Regions from separate parts of the Homo sapiens genome. Here region 1 is linked to region 2. The links are contacts of gene promoters, found by promoter capture Hi-C in human tissues and cell types (Jung and others, 2019). All regions are on one chromosome and are shown on one strand. The core of a region is centred on a gene start or on the middle of the fragment in contact, and the rest is flanking DNA. Distances in the headings are between cores, read along the strand shown.

Region 1 (3,667 bases), core at 414-2,913, 180 kb before region 2:
CCCATGAAACTTTAACAAAAAATCTCAATTTATATGAAAATACGACTATGATTAATGTTACAATTTAAGCAATAATTATGCCTACCCAGAAGTATAAATTGCTTCATCATCAATGTTTTTTACTCCTAATAAATGTCTCCCACATACACTACTTCTTTTTCTTTCTTTTTTTTTTTTTTTTTTTTTTTTTTTGAGATGGAGTTTTGCTCTTGTTGCCCAGGCTGGAGTGCAGTGGAGCGATCTTGGCTCACTGCAACCTCTGCTTCCCAAGTTCAAGCGATTCTCCTACCTCAGCCTCCCATGTAGCTGGGATTCCAGGTGCATGCCACTACGCCTGGCTAATTTTTTGTATTTTTAGTAGAGGCAGGGTTTCACCATGTTGGCCAGGCTGGTGTTGAACTCCTGACTTCAGGTGATCCACCCGCCTCAGCCTCCCAAAGGGTTGGGATTACAGATGTGAGCCACCGCGCCCGGCCAACATACACTATTTCTTCTACTATGATCTCCATCTCTGTCTCGATCACTCCCAAAAGGAATTTGTAATTACTACACACAGTTAGCATTAGTATGTTTTTTCTGAGTCACTTGGTTATGATTTTATTTTCTGCCAAGGGTTTCAAATATTACAATTCTCAAGACTCCAAAGGAAAAATACAAATCTGATCTCTTATTCAGTTCCTCATAGCCCTGCTTTTCCTTTCTAACTCAACCTCACTTGTCATGTTTTCCCTCCTATCAGCTTGTCATGCACTACTATTTGCTACGGTTCAGGGGAAAGCAAGTTAAGGGGGAAGTGGTTGGGAAAGTAATGAAGTGAATTTGGGAACCATGGGCAACCTGATTTGAGTCCAGATTACCCTGCTACAGGGTATTCACAATAAGAATATCCTTATGATTTCTGCACTGTAATAAGCTGATTAGCTGGGTATGGCTTCTGGCAAAGGTCAAACCTGATGGTGTTTTATACTGAAAATGGACACTGTTAAAGACAAGGGGAAAGGGAGGCTGCTCTGAGACTATTAGTGCAGAGAGTAATTAAGTCTAAAATTAATAAACTGTGTTTCATTCAACCTAAAATGCTACTGAGTGTTAGACTTACTATTTTCTGTACCAGTGCCAGCTATAACTGCAGAACGTCCCTGACTGTAAGATGCAACCTAATCTCACAGATGTAAAAATGTGAGAAAAAGAAGGTGTATCTTAGAACTTAGGAAATATAGTGGTTGAAAGTGGTGGCCACTCAGCATCAAAGATTCCTTTTAACCACAAAATCTTCACAGAAAAAGAAACATAAATATGCTTTGGCATAATATTTTATATTTAAACATCTAGAACTATAAGGATATATTCCTAAAATAAAATGTATGATTTAAGAAAAAACTTTTAGAGAAAAACAATATTACTGGAGTAGCTAAGGTACTAGTTATAATTCTGGTTATGGAAGGGTTGATTTTGTTTTGAAACAGGTGACCTTATTTTACCTGAGACGAACTTGGTGCTTTTCCAAGACACAGTCCCAATGAACTTCCCATCTTCAATTCTGCTTCCTTCAAAGTATAGCTGTCCGGCACTTAAAAAAATTTTGATAATATGATGAAGGTTATTAATTCCTAGCTCTCTAAGAAAAATAAATGCTGAAATCAGTATTTCTTTGAAAATCAAGAATATCAAGAAAGAAGAAAAATGAGTTGCACTTCAGACAAAAGGATTACATGCACTAAGATTAGGTTTGATTTTCAATTTCCATACTCTTAAGATATTGTCTTCCTGTTTTCTATGTAACAATGCTAAATGGAAGCTATGAAAGTCTAGTTTCCTACTTAATAAAAATGACTTGTTCAAAGAGCTGTTGTTTATATAGATTAAAAGCCAGATAATCCAAATCAATCCATAAATGAAGAAGTAGCTTCTTCCAAGTTTAAAGTTGAGATTGTTATTACCATCAATAATTAGGCTCATCCATGACTAAATTAAATCTAATGGTAAGAGGTGATACAGAGATGAGAACTGAAGATTTTATTTCATAATTGGTATCGCAATAAAATTCACAAAAAAATGGAAAAATTTTGAAAATAAAGCTGGAAAAAATATAACTAGATCAAACCCGTGAGTAAAATGAGAATCGGATAATCAGAAAGAATGGTGTTTCATTTAGAAAACAGAAGTGTTTGTTTCTGGTTAAGGATTTCTGCAATATAAAGGTAAGATACCTGGAAGAAAATATGTCCTATAAATCAGTTTCCAAAAGGTAATTTTTAAATATTAGGTATTGGAGGCCACTATTTATCAAGAAAGACAGACGAGTATAAGCCACCTTTTGAAAGTTATCAAAAAGATTTACCTGGACAAAGAAGCTTCCCATTTCTATCAATAGGTCTCAAACAGCTGTTGTCAGCTATATATAAAAGGAATATTATTTTTCTTAGAGAGCTAGGAATTAATAACCTTCATCCTATTATCAAAATAAAAGGAAGCTGGTTACAGCATCAAACACAGAAAACAAAAGAGAGATGCTCTATTGTGTTAATTAGCAGAAAACTACAGAAAGCTAAAAACAAAAACAAACCAAAAACCCCCCAACAACCAAAGAAAAAACCCCCAAAATAAGTACAGGCAGTCTTTGTTTTGTGCAGTAGTGCAAGACTAAAAGTACCTGGTCAAACTGTGCAAAACAATATTAATAATCAATGGAAAAATTACAATCGTTCCATGACACTTAAAAATTTTTGTTGAAACATTTAAAACCCTCTTCGTTATTAATATTATACATGTATTGGGAAAGGAAAAAACAGTAAAACCAATATTTATACTATAATTTAAAATACTAGAATCTTTGAGAATTAAAATGTTTTCTGTCTTTGTAAATTACATATAAAGAGTCGTTTAAGCAGGGCTTGGTTTCTTCTCATTGCATAGCTTATAATATAGAGTGACATTTTTCCTGTCCTGTGGCAAACTGTCATACTCCTTTCTAAGTTTGGATCAGCTTCCAATATCTAGAGTCTCTTGAGTGACTGCAGGGTCAACATTCCCAGAGGTAGCTGCTGCTTCTATAACTCCATATACTTTTGTTTCTTTGTGTACTTTCTTCTCTGTTGGTCAATTCCCTCTTTTGATTATGTATTCTTGTAAAATGTCATGGTGGGTTTAGCACTACAACACAACTACATGCTTTGCTGTCTGTGTAATGAAGTGTACATGCAGTGACAAACCACCAGACTTGAAAGAAATGAAGTCAATGGTTACTGCTTGTGGTGCACATGTGTTATTTATGTGATGAATTGTGCCCTGAAGAGCTGGCAGTCAAGTGTGTACTTTATTCAGTTACAGTTAATATACCATATACCATGGTTGCTGAAATTTTAACCATCTTGCTGGGGGATTGATGTTATATAACTAAATGGTAGTAATGAAATTCGTGCATGTCAGAGCAGTACAAGCAGACTGCCTATATTTAAAATATGTTGGGTGATTTTATGCTTATTAAATCGGCCAGCATGTGCTATGTTTGAGGATACAGATTCTTGCTTTGGAAGAATATATTTCCTCAAGATCCCCTGGTGCTTGGAAGGGGCATACCAAGTTTTCAGTTCAAACAGAATTCTTAAAAAGTAGGACATAAATTGGAGGGGTGGGGGAAGGTTGAGTGTTCTGTATAGACAACAAT
Region 2 (3,667 bases), core at 652-3,151:
CAACAGGATTTTCAGAGCAAGGCTGTGGTTGGAAGGGCTCAGACCAACGTCCACAGCAGAGTGGAGGTCTAGTATAAAGAATGTGAAGTTTGTAGCATCTCTTGATCCCGCTATTCCTACATGCTTGCTTAAGCCATTCTTCCTCTAGATGAACTGTTCTTTGAAGGAAACCTGCCTAATGTCTGCCTGCTCAAGAAGGTGGACCTGAGCTCTGTTCCCTTTGCAACCTTCCTGGAGTCTTATTGCTATCTAGATGAACTCAAAGCAAGATGCTGCCGCCCCCATGACTTTGATCATTGTAAGCTGCCAATCCTCTTGGGAGGCTGCTCCCAGCTTGGACTGAGCTGAGTCTTCGCATGCCTTGAACAATGAATTTGCATCCTGGTTATGTTCCCCATGGGGGCCAGCCCTGTCCTTGGAGTGGCCCCTCTAATCATGTTGCTCAGGCTTCTTCTCCCTTCCTGGGCCCCAGAACACCTCCGGTGCCAAACTTGTGGGTGGGAACAGGAACTCGCGTGCCAGCCAGGTGTGCATGACTAGCTCTGGGCAAGTCTGTTCTAGTAATTCAAGGTACCACCTCTCACTGGGACAGCCTAGTTTCTACACAGGTCTTGCTCTGGGACCGCCCTCAGCAGTGTGGTTAGCAGGCAGGGCCAGTGTGACCCTCCCTTTCTGGGCCTCAGTTGAGAAACCTGAAGCTCAGGAGAGGAGTCACTCCCCTGGCAGATGGGTGGCTGGGCCAGAAGCAGATACCAGGCTTTCTGACTCCTGCTCTAGGATTCTCACCACGTACTGGCTAGACTTATACTTCTCAAATCTTAATTTCCTAAAGGCAAGTAACAGTTTGAATGTTGTTATATTGTGATGTATAATAAGAAATATATGTTTGTCTTTGTTTCCTGGACACAGCTCCTGAAACCATAAGTGGTGGGAGCGATAAACGTGAACAAAGAATCTTTTGTTATTCAAAACAGATCCCTTTCGATCACACCTAAGTTTATGTAAAGGAGATGTAAAGTCTCTAAGGATGAGGGCTAGTTGCCAGGGAACAAAACCCTTGCGATTAGAGGGAAGAAAGGAGAGAGAGATTGAAGATTGATTTGATCACCGATGGGCAACAATCTAATCAATCATGCCTACTATGTATGGAAGCCTACATAAAAACTCAGAAGGGCAGGGTTCAGAGAGCTTTCAGGTTGCTGAAGGTGTGGAGGGTGGGGCACCCAGAGATGGCAGATGGGGCTCCATGGCCATACCCCCATATCTTGTTCTTTGTACTTTTTCCTCTGGCTATTCATCCGTATTGTTTGCAATATCCTTTGTAATAAACCAAACCTAGTAAATAAACTGTTTTCTTCAGTTCTGTGAGCCATTCTAGCAAATGATTGACTCCAAGAAAGAGGGTGTGTGAACCTCTGATTTTTGCCAAGTCAGACAGAAGTTGTGGGTAACCTGGGGACCTACTACTTGCAATTGGTGTCTGAAGTGAGGGCAGTCTTGTAGGACTGAGCCCTTAACCTGTGGGGTCCGTGCTAACTCAGAATTCAGTTCAGAATGGAATTGAATTGTAGGATACCCAGCTGGTGTTAGAGAATAGGTCCGTGTGCAAGAAAAATTCCCGCACATCATGGACATAACAGACAACGTCAATGATGAGGAATCCAGCAAGTTCGGGATAGAGAATTGGCAGGGGGTCCTCAGGGGTCTCTCCAAGTCATCTTCAAAGTGTTGCTATAACTTTTCAGAGAGGGAGAAGCAGACTTGTGGAGCTGAAGAGAAACACCCAGAAGCTCAGGTGAAAGCTGACACGGCCATAGTTGGTTCATATTAACCATGTGATTAAAATGGTTAAATATTAATTTGGGTTCTTACATATCAAAGGGTAAAATTCAGAGCAAGGGAGAGGTAGACAGGACCTGTGAAAAGCAGTGGTTAGTTTAGGGAAAATACCTAGGAGCCCTGTGATTTGGAGAGTGAAAACTCTTTATTACCGTTGTTACTTTAACTCTTTCCAGGATGGCCTGCCTCCTTCGCTCATTTCAGAGAATTTCTGCAGGGGTTTTCTTCTTAGCACTTTGGGGCATGGTTGTAGGTGACAAGCTGCTGGTGGTCCCTCAGGACGGAAGCCACTGGCTTAGTATGAAGGATATAGTTGAGGTTCTCAGTGACCGGGGTCATGAGATTGTAGTGGTGGTGCCTGAAGTTAATTTGCTTTTGAAAGAATCCAAATACTACACAAGAAAAATCTATCCAGTGCCGTATGACCAAGAAGAGCTGAAGAACCGTTACCAATCATTTGGAAACAATCACTTTGCTGAGCGATCATTCCTAACTGCTCCTCAGACAGAGTACAGGAATAACATGATTGTTATTGGCCTGTACTTCATCAACTGCCAGAGCCTCCTGCAGGACAGGGACACCCTGAACTTCTTTAAGGAGAGCAAGTTTGATGCTCTTTTCACAGACCCAGCCTTACCCTGTGGGGTGATCCTGGCTGAGTATTTGGGCCTACCATCTGTGTACCTCTTCAGGGGTTTTCCGTGTTCCCTGGAGCATACATTCAGCAGAAGCCCAGACCCTGTGTCCTACATTCCCAGGTGCTACACAAAGTTTTCAGACCACATGACTTTTTCCCAACGAGTGGCCAACTTCCTTGTTAATTTGTTGGAGCCCTATCTATTTTATTGTCTGTTTTCAAAGTATGAAGAACTCGCATCAGCTGTCCTCAAGAGAGATGTGGATATAATCACCTTATATCAGAAGGTCTCTGTTTGGCTGTTAAGATATGACTTTGTGCTTGAATATCCTAGGCCGGTCATGCCCAACATGGTCTTCATTGGAGGTATCAACTGTAAGAAGAGGAAAGACTTGTCTCAGGTTGGTGGGTTTATTTCTTTTGGACTGCCTTGTTTCTTCCAGGCTCTGTCCTCCCTCACTCATTTGGCTCCTTGAGCCGACTGTCCCTTGGAGGATTTCCTGGAGAAACGGTGGGGGGAAGTGATACCCGGCTCGGAGCAGCGGGAACACATAGGAGACCTGAGGCTGAAGTGATACAGAGGCATTCGGATGAAGACAGGGCTCATGCTTGGCAAGAGTAGGAGATTTGCTTAGTTGGATAATCTGGGACAGTCACATACTCATTGAATGAGCCTTAGAAATGTCCCAGTTCAAACAGAGGTGAAGGCTTGACTAAGGGAACAGGTCCAGGTTAAAATCCATTTTCCCAACTCTGTCCCATGCTTTGTCTCTGGACCTTGAGCCAGGGACCAGCGAACTACAGCCTGTGAGCCCAATCTGCCCAAAGGCCTGTTTTTTGTTTTTTTTTTTCCTTTTATGTTGAGACCTGTTTTTATATGGCCCAGAGCTAAGAATGGTTTTTGTAGTTTTAAAACAATTTAACAATGAAGAATATGTGCCACAGAAGTATTTGGTCTGCAAAGCCTACACATTTACTGACTGGCCTTTTCAGCAAAAGGGGTATGGCCTCTGACCTAAGACAAGTGTTTACAGATGCCCTCCTGACATGTAGGAAAAGGGCCCAGAGTTACTTTGGAAAATAAAAATCTGTGAGTTTTAAATTTCAATGTAAATATTTACAACTTTGAAGGGCTTCAGGCAACTCCCTCTATCTTTTATGCCTCAATTTTCTTTTCCAGTTCCTTTTTTA

Evidence for each region. The method cuts DNA at HindIII sites, captures the fragments that hold promoters and counts their contacts. A contact is called where the count stands out against the background at its distance.
Region 1: a fragment that was not itself captured here is called in contact with the fragment with the promoter of UGT1A6 in region 2 in 2 of the 25 tissues and cell types used here (liver and mesendoderm cells).

What each region holds. Positions count from the first base shown.
Region 1 is chr2:233,510,228-233,513,894 of GRCh38, forward strand. USP40 (ubiquitin specific peptidase 40) reads right to left here. Exons shown (of 32, transcript NM_001365479.2): 19 at 2,342-2,395; 20 at 1,482-1,570. Among named protein-coding and RNA genes, the nearest start is that of USP40, 55 kb to the right of the region's middle. The HindIII fragment of the contact is 4,674 bases long and covers 1-3,667 here.
Region 2 is chr2:233,690,989-233,694,655 of GRCh38, forward strand. UGT1A6 (UDP glucuronosyltransferase family 1 member A6) reads left to right here and starts at 1,902. Exons shown (of 5, transcript NM_001072.4): 1 at 1,902-2,877. The coding sequence starts at 2,017. The region is part of intron 1 of UGT1A8 (UDP glucuronosyltransferase family 1 member A8); the gene reads left to right. The region is part of intron 1 of UGT1A10 (UDP glucuronosyltransferase family 1 member A10); the gene reads left to right. All of the region lies in intron 1 of UGT1A9 (UDP glucuronosyltransferase family 1 member A9), which reads left to right. It also overlaps UGT1A7 and UGT1A. RefSeq lists enhancers at 40-647, 648-1,254. The HindIII fragment of the contact is 31,227 bases long and covers 1-3,667 here.